2 separate regions of the Homo sapiens genome follow, and region 1 is linked to region 2. The links are contacts of gene promoters, found by promoter capture Hi-C in blood cells and fetal thymus (Javierre and others, 2016). All regions are on one chromosome and are shown on one strand. The core of a region is centred on a gene start or on the middle of the fragment in contact, and the rest is flanking DNA. Distances in the headings are between cores, read along the strand shown.

What was found. The method cuts DNA at HindIII sites, captures the fragments that hold promoters and counts their contacts. A CHiCAGO score of 5 or more calls a contact.
Region 1: a contact is called between a fragment that was not itself captured here and the fragment with the promoter of RAMAC in region 2, in 2 of 17 cell types (naive CD8 T cells and total CD8 T cells). The highest score is 6.8, in naive CD8 T cells.

Annotation. Positions count from the first base shown.
Region 1 is chr15:82,260,181-82,264,515 of GRCh38, reverse strand. It overlaps EFL1 (elongation factor like GTPase 1), which reads left to right and starts at 1,782. Exons shown (of 20, transcript NM_024580.6): 1 at 1,782-1,902; 2 at 2,719-2,828. The coding sequence starts at 2,738. It overlaps SAXO2 (stabilizer of axonemal microtubules 2), which reads right to left and starts at 1,698. Exons shown (of 4, transcript NM_001348699.2): 1 at 1,584-1,698. The coding sequence starts at 1,636. RefSeq lists enhancers at 1,478-1,547, 1,568-1,657 and a silencer at 3,666-3,852. The HindIII fragment of the contact is 2,763 bases long and covers 1-2,631 here.
Region 2 is chr15:82,984,306-82,989,036 of GRCh38, reverse strand. It overlaps RAMAC (RNA guanine-7 methyltransferase activating subunit), which reads right to left and starts at 2,827. Exons shown (of 4, transcript NM_031452.4): 1 at 2,668-2,827; 2 at 1,653-1,701; 3 at 1-27. The coding sequence starts at 18. It also overlaps a transcript of HOMER2 not described here and a transcript of C15orf40 not described here. The HindIII fragment of the contact is 1,767 bases long and covers 1,645-3,411 here.

The DNA of each region.
Region 1 (4,335 bases), core at 1-2,500, 720 kb after region 2:
AAGCTAATAGTATACAGTTATTTAAGAGAATGAGGGTGGTCTTTATGCATGATCATTGGAAGTTGGTGAGATTGTAAATAGTAAAAAACCGGATTGTAGAATAGTATGCTCAGAATATTCTCTTTTTTTGTTAAAAAAAAAAAAAAATCAATGCAGGCCAGGCGCAGTGGCTCACGCCTGTAATCCCAGCACTTTGGGAAGCCGAGGCAGGCAGATCATGAGGTCAGGAGATGGAGGCCAACATGGTGAAACCCCGTCTCTACTAAAAATACAAAAATTAGCTGGGTGTGGTCGCACGAGCCTGTAATCCCAGCTACTCAGAGAGGCTGAGGCAGGAGAATTGCTTGAACCCGGGAGGCGGAGATTGCAGTGAGCCGAGATTGCGCCACTGCACTCCAGCCTGGCAAGAGAGCCAGACTCTGTCTCAAAAAAAAAAAAAAAAAAAAATCAATGCATATGTAAAACAAGTCTTAAAGAACATTTGTTATCTGTGGAAGATAGAATTATGAAGGCGTTTTACAATATTATAGATATTTTTGCTTAGATTTTTATGATACTTCTTGTGTATTTATTGCATTGTCAAAAAATAAAAATAAACCCTTAAAAAGACAAAACTAACAACCACAGCCCAAAACAAACAAACAAGAAGTAAAATCACGCCATTCCAATGGTGGCCCTCAACATAATGAAGACTGAATTTCCTTACAGTTGAATGAGAAAGGAACTTGCGTTGAATATAAATTAGGAGAAAAGTAAAAATTTTCTCCTGCACACCAGTCTGAGGATTCATACACCCAAAGTTAATTTGTTGATATTTTAATCTATATATAATTATGAACTGTGTTTATTATGAGACTATTAAAAAAACTGCTTTCCATCAACATGTAGGTGTTTTCTTTGAATGGGATTACAAATACACCAGGGATTGACAACGTTCATATTTACTTAGCAAATAATGATCTAATCCCTGGGTCAATAGTGAAGCTGAGGAAGGAGAGGACTGTGTTTACAGGTGATGGAAGGTTGTTAGGCAGGACTCACAGTTGGATTCTAGATTTCAGGGTAGGGACTACTTACTGACTTTTCAGTCAGGCGGATCCCAAAGAACTGCTGCCTGGACGGGAATGGGAATATGGTCTGGCTGGGAGGACAGAAAGCTACAGATGAAAGAAAATGTGATATGGGTTGCAGACTCAGGGCCTTGAGCACTGTTCTTTCTCATCTTCGTGGTGGGGGATTATGGGGTGGAAATGCACTCTCCCAGTCGGATCACATCCCACTACTCACCAGCGTTATATCCCGTCGCGGCTTCACATATATTACTTACCTGGCCCGGGTGGCATTTTACTTTGCATCCTTGATTGGGAGTCTCAGGGGCTACGAACAAACGTTTTACCCCCGGGTAGCAGGCGGGTGAGGAGCGAGTATTCGCGGAGCGGGATAAGTGGGGATGTCGCTGCGCCCTCGTCCCTTCATCTCCGGGGGACGGCCACTCTCAGGGTTCCCGAGGAGCCGGCTCCGTGCACCTAGGCCCTAGGTCGGCTCCCAAGCCCGGGCCCGCCGCTACACCAGCCGTTTCTTACCCGCAGCTACAAATCTGACACAGACACCAGCTCCTCATACTCTTGGCTCCCATGCTTTCCTCCACCGCGCCTCAGCACTTGCAGCTTCTCCACTCCCACAGCGCCCGCCGTAGTCAAGGCAACAGAGGGATGCCCGGTGACAGACTCGGCGCCGGCTTCCGGCGGCGTCAGAGACGTGCGGGTGAAAGGTCGAGCGACAGCCGGCCCCGCCCCCTGGCGCGCGGGCGTGTCGGACCCGCAGAGCTCTCGGACTTTCGGAAGCTCTCGGTGTGGGTGCGACCCGAGAGAAGGAGCGGGGCTGGTGGGGCTGCTGCAGCCGGTGAGTGTGGGCTGGCGCTGGGGGCTGGAACCTCCTAGGCCAGCCTTTGGGCGGTGCCGGAGGAACCCGCTCGCTGCGGCTCTGAGGCGGGAACAGGGGCTGGGGCCGAGCGCGGGCTGGGAGCTTCGGTCCCCGGAGTGCCGCTTCCCGTCTGGGGCCGGGGCGGTCGCCTGTCTGTGTGGACCCAGGATCCTCAAAGAGAACGAATCTGGGACCCTGCAGAAATGAAGGGCATGTAGTGTAGAGGTTTTTCCTTTTTATTTAGAAAGGAATGAAAGACCGGCAGTGCACCTGCTTGGATAATAAGCACGTGACCCAAAACTTTGTTCGGGCTCCATGGGCAGGAATAAAGCTGGGTATTTGACCTCGCGCGAGGACGAGCGAGAATGTCAGAATGAGGGACTTGGGGGAAGACTGAAGAGAGAAAGGGAGCATCTTCTTCAGCATTTTCTCTCCCTCCTGGATGCAACCCTTCCTGTACGTGGTCATTGGCCTGGAGATGTTTACTGGAGTACTCCTCCACCGGCAGGGTTACTGGTGTCACTGTGCACCCAGTCCCCTCGAGCTGCGTGATTCATCGCAGCCTTTGGATCCGGAAGGATGAGCAAACTCCTTAAGTGTAATCGTGGTAGGATACTGACTTTAGTGCTCGAACTGGACTTAGGCCTTGGTGGTCTATCTCATCAATAAACATTCACTGGGTTCTTGGTTTAAGGGGTTTGAGAAGCTTGCCACCTCCCAGCGTTTATTATTATTTTTTTCTTTTGCCCCGACCTTTAGCCTCTGGGCCATTTGTAATACATATTTAATTTTTAGTCACAGGAAATAAGTAATCATGGTGCTCAACAGTTTGGATAAGATGATTCAACTCCAGAAAAACACTGCCAACATCAGGAATATTTGTGTTTTGGCTCATGTTGACCATGGTAAGAATACTTTTTAAATGGCTTATTTTGATAAATAAGGGAGATGTGTCTCTGTATGTCTCAGTGGAGTGAAGCTGTGGACAGCTGAGAGTGATGTTTGCTAAGAAGCAAGTCTTCTTTCTTTAAAAGTTTTGTGTGATGTTAGGGAAGCCTGCTTTGCTATAAAGCATTTGAAATGAACACGGTTACCTAGTGAGTAGCATTCTTCTATATATTATGTCATGTTGTTTTTTAAAGCAGAACTTGAATTTTTTGTTTTTGAAATGGCTTTACATATAAAATGTCTGTAGTCTTGACATAATGTCCTTAGAGTCTGTGGTATGTGATCCTATTTAATTCATCAGATATTTATCAAACGTCTGTTAAGTTCAAGATATTTTGCTTAGTATGTCTGAAGGTGGAGATTTATGAGTAGGGCACTAGCCCAGGGGAGGTTTTAACGGGGAGCAGAGCAAAATGAGACAAACAAGAGAAAAAAGTAGACTCTAAGGTTGGGAGAACTAGAGGATTAGGAAGTGAGGGGTTAGGAAAAGACCTCACAACATAATTAGTATTAGAGATGACACTTGAAGGGGGCTCAAGATGACAAATGGAGATAATCATTACAGGTGGGAATGTGTCATCAAGGGGAGAGGGAAATATATGTGGTCAAAGCCCAGTATATGGGAAAGGCAGAGATAGCTAACCCATGGTATGTTCTTCTGACAGATACTGCTGTAACTCCATAGCGCTCCTTCATGCTAAGCCTCCTCTTGATTTCAAACCTCTTGGTAGTTTAGGTAACCACAGCAAAGTGATTGGGATGGGCATATGAAATAAAACATATTTACCATCCTGAAGATGAAGGACCAGTTGGCGAGGTGAAGAAGCAGGCTGAGTCATATCTCATAGAGCTGCTCATGCCAGCTAGGAACTGGGATAAGAGTTGAGTGCTCCAGCTCTGGAGTTAGACAACCTAAGTTCAGATCTCCATTTTCAAGTTACATACCTTGCCTTTTTGAGCTTCAATATACAGCATCTGTAAAACAGGATGAAAACTATACCTGCTTTATAGGCTATAGGATTAAATGTGATAATAATGAGAGGGAAGGTAAACGCTTCACCATGAAAACGATCATTAATGTCTACTATTAGGCAGTAGGGAGCCTTTGGGGGAAAACATGGAGCAGGAATGATGTAATCAAATAAAACATGAGAAAGATTAGATTGGTAGACATGCTTAGGATGGATCCAAAGTCAGAGATTAGGTGGCTGTTGTCATTGATAGAAGAGCTGAAGTAATGTGAGTATGGAAACTGACAGAAAGACAGATAGTGGATCACTTACAAGTGAAGCCAGCTGTGAATGAGTTTTAGTACAAATCCAGTGAGTAACCCCTGCCTCCATGAGTTTTTATAATTTTACTGCTCACATTTTGAGAATGTGAAGGCTGATAAAAGGGTTTTTTTTTTCTTTATGAATTTATTCAAGTGGAAAGTTAGTGGGGTGTAACAAATTACTTTAAATG
Region 2 (4,731 bases), core at 1,578-4,077:
TTCGGCAGTGTCAGTCATTCTGAAAATCTGTACAATTTTAAAGACATTTCCATTAAAAAAAATTTAAAAATTAACACTCTCTCCAAATAATGAAAAACCAAGAAGTAAGCAATTTTTAGGCGGGGTATTCATGGAAGTCTTTGTGTGCTTTCAGACATGTCATATTTTAGATATTGAATTCAACATTTTTTTTTTTTTTTTGAGACAGGGTCTCTCACTTTGTCACCCAGGCTGGAGCACAGCGGCACAACCTCGGGTCACTGCAGCCTTGACTTCCCTGGCTCAAACAATCCTCCCACCTCAGCCTCCCAAGTTGCTGGAACTACAGGTGCATGCCACCCACACCCGGCTAATTTTCGTATTTTTTGAAGAGACGGGATCTCGCCATGTTGCCTAGGCTGGAAGTCTTGGGCTTCGGTGATCCTCCTGCCTTGGCTTCCCAAAGTGCTGGGATTACAGGCATGAGCCACTGTGCCTGGCCCGAATTATTTTTCTTACTTTATTAACTTCCAATAAAAGGTTTGGGACAAAAAGATGTGACAATGGAAGCTATTGTGATAACTTCTTCATTAGTCTGCCTTTCCTCCAAACATATGCAAATATTTGTAACATTTATACTACCTACTTTAACCCCAACAAAATTAAACGGAAATTATTGTTGCATTGCAAGAAACAATATGTAGATTTTTTCTTTTTCCTTTTCCCCCAGACGGAGTCTTGCTCTGTCACCCAGAGTTGGAGTGCAATGGCGCGATCTCAGCACACTGCAACCTCTGCCTCCCAGGTTCAAGCAATTCTCCTGCCTCAGCCTCCCAAGTAGCTGGGATTACAGGCACGCGCCACCACACCCAGCTAATTTTTGCATTTTTAGTAGAGATGGGGTTTTGTTGGCCAGGCGGGTCTTGAACTCCTGACCTCATAATCCGCCCGCTTTGGCCTCCCAAAGTCCTGGGATTACAGGTATGAGCCACTGCGCCCAGCCTTTTTTTTTTTTTTTTTTTGAGACGGAGTTTCACTCTTGTTGCCCAGGCTAGAGTGCAATGGCGCGATCTCGGCTCACTGCAATCTCTGCCTCTCGAATTCAAGTGATTCTCCTGTCTCTGCCTCCCGAATAGCTGGGATTACAGGTGCACGCCCGCTCGCTAATTTTTGTATTTTTAGTAGAGACAGGGTTTCATCATGTTGGCCAGGCTGATCTTGAACTCCTGACCTCAGGTGATCTGCCTGCCTCAGCCTCCCAAAGTACTGGGATAACAGGCATAAGCCACCGCGCCCAGCCTGACACTCTTATCTTTCAGGCTATTGCTCTTAGTATGCTTTATCAAATACCAAATATCAGACTTTCAATGTGTCTGGGATTGGCAAACTATATCAAATTCTCAAATCCAAGGAATGAGTTTTAAATAAATTCAGCTAATTAAAAATCATGTCTAGAATTCTAGTGGGATCACAGAAATCACTAAAAAGATGACCCATACCTAATCCAGATGGGCAGTAAAAATCATAAGGCAAGGAAAAGGTGCTACTCCATTTTTATGTTCTCATATGTTCTCCCACGACTCCCCACCCATACTCATGTAAACAAATATCAACTGTATTATTACTGAGAACGAAATTTAAATAGAATGTTAATCGACCCAAGCTTTACTTACCCCAAAGGTTTGAGGCAGCTGTACTGCTTAATGTTTAGGTTGTTTAAATCTGTGGGAGGAAAAAAACAAACTTGACTTTATTTAAGGAAACTCTCAAAAGGTGTTTGTAGGGGAGGGTGGCGCATAAGAGTCTTATTCAAGGAAAGAATTGGAGTAAAAGTGCTCTAAGGCCAGGCGCGGTGGCTCACCTCTGTAATCCCAACACTTTGGGAGGCCGAGGCGGGCAGATCACGAAGTCAAGAGATCGAGACCAGCCTGGCTAACACGGTGAAACCTCGTCTCTCCTAAAAATAGAAAAAATTAGCCAGGCGTGGTGGCATGTGCCTGTAGTCCCAGCTACTCGGGAGGCTGAGGCAGGAGAATCGCTTGAACTTGGGAGGCGGAGATCGCGCCACTGCACTCCAGCCTGGGCGACAGAGCGAGACTCCGTCTCAAAAAAAAAACAAAAAACAAACCAAAAAAACGCTCTAAAGACTTCCAAAGCTAATATTCCAAAGAGGGAACTGGTTCTCAAGAGCAAGAAGCTACAAGATTTGTCCTCTGGGCCTTCAAAAGCAAAATAGTTCAAGTATGAATACAAACTTCATAAAGTATGTATGTTCTTTTAGGGTAAGCCTTTCAGATTTGTACTTGAATACTGCTAATTTATTCACCACAAATAAAACCACAAAGAACTTTGGCTGCGGGCGACTAACCCTGGAAATAACCAACCAGAATGGGGTTTCGCTGCCCTGGGAGGTGAGCCCGGGGAACAGACGAAGATGCAGACTGAAAACAACTGCGTTTTCCAGTCCGTCCTCAAGGCACATCACAGCTTGCTTACCAAGGTTCTGGCAGATTTGCTCCCTTCCGAAGCACCTTATACCTCCAGAAGTGAGGGAAATTATGGGCCGTGAGAAGTAAACGGGCTTCGGTCTAGCAAAGAGTACAGATCACCGCACAGGGGGAGGACACCTCGCTGGCCACCCAGCTCGGCCGCCCCGCTCCCTCCTCCCGGGCGTCCGGGGCGACTCACCCGCCAAGGGCTATGTCAATCCAGCTCAGGCCGAACCCCGCCGGCGAGACACTGAGAAGCCCAGGAGAGGTGGCCTCTGGTCCACTACACCGTGGAACTCCAGACCACTCCAGTTCTCCAATGTAACCGAGCGCCTTCCTCTAAAATCCGACAACCACCTGACTTCCGCTTCCGGCGGGCTAAAGTTGAGGGTGCCTGTCAAGTCTCGCGATAACTAAGGCTCTCCGTGTGGATCGCTTTGCAACAGATCGCTTCTTCAAATGCTGGCACAACGCCCAGAGCTCGATGAGGTGTGGGCAAGTAGCTGTCTAAAGGTGGATGATGCCCTCCATGCACTTTCAGCCTGCCTGGTGGCTGGGCAGTCGAAAACGTCGCCGTCTATTAAGCTCCTTTGATTGGGAGCAGGTGACGGGTAGAGACGGAAGTTCTGGGAATCACCGGAGAAGGGAGGGAAGGGCTCCTTCCGGCCGCCTGCTCCCGGAGTCTTCGTGGGGAACGTGAGGTGAGAGCAGGCGGTGAAGAGTAGACACGACTGATGACTTCAGGGATGCTACACCTTTCTCTCCTGCCTGGGCAAGCCTCGGTAGTAAGATTTCCGTAGTCCGTTTTGTATGTGGTTTTGCAGAAACATACCCCCTCTCTGCTCCAGCTTCAGTCGTCAGTATCCAGCTACTTCCAAGAGTCTTGCCCATGTCTTGTGGGATGTTCAGCAAATGTATAAACACTTAATATCCCGACAAAGCTTGGCCTCTTCCCTCCCAAATTACTTCCCAGGCTATGCACCCGTTTTTGTTAATACAACCAACTTGGAAACTTTGATGTCAGATTTGATGCCCTTTCTTGCCTTTCCATGCTCCAATCACTTGCCAAGTCCTGTCGATTGTACCCCTACAGTAATTCTTGCATCTTCTTACCCACTGCCCCCACCTAATCAACGTTCTCATTACCATCCCCTGCACGGTGTCAGTGCAGTACCTTTCTCATTGATGTCCTGCCTCTAGCATCACTCTGCTACTAGCCTATCTTACATATACCTGCTATAGGTGTAGCCATCTTCAAGCACCACCGTGATCCAAAATAGCTGATCCAATGGCTCTCTGTTGCCTGTAGATTAAAGGTCAAGTTTATTAACTTGGATTCAAAACTTTTTTTATTTTCTGCTGTTCCCCTTCCATTCTCCCTCAGTCAGTGGTAAACCAGACCCTGTGAAGTACGTCATGCATAAATTATTACATTTTTATAGATTGCTCATGTCCCTTGCATGAAATACCTGTCTCTCCCCCTCATCTCCAAATGTTGAAATTCTTTCCATTATTTAAAGCTTTAGAAAGTGACATCTCTACCTAGAAATAATTTTTCTTTCTATTGAGAGTCCATCATATTTCTGGAATTTCATGTATTTAGTTATTACCACTTTCTAACTTCGAACTAAAATTATTTACTTGCAAGTCTTTCCCCCTATTAAACTGTAAACAGGCCTTTATCTAATGCATTTCTACATTCTGGAGTGTATAACATTGTGCTTTTTTTGTTTGTTTGTTTGTTTGTTTCTTTGACACAGGGTCTCATTCTGTTGCCCAGGCTGGAGTGCAGTGACGTGGTCATGGCATACTGCAGCCTCGACTTCCTGGGCTCAGGCGATCCTCTCAGCTCAGCCTCCGGAGAGCTGGGACTACAGGTGCACACCACCACCCTGCTAATTTTTTGTATTTTTTGTAGAGATGGAATTTTGCAGTATTGCCCAGTCTGGTCTCGAACTCTGGGCTCAAGCAGTCCACCCACCTCAGCCTCCCAAAGGGCTGGGATTACAGGCCTGAGCCGTGGAGCCCAGCCCCACATTGTGCTTTTTCCATGACGTTAGCACTGAATAAATGTTTGTGGAATGAATGATAGAACTATGAATATTCCAAGTAATGTTTTAGAAACATTAACCTAGCAAAAGTATATAGGATAGTATGGATGAGGGAATAGGATAGTCTTGGTGTTGGGTAGTAAAGGTAAGAGGTGTAACAACCAAGGTTACAATAATTGAATAAAAGGCCGGGTGCGGTGGCTCACGCCTGT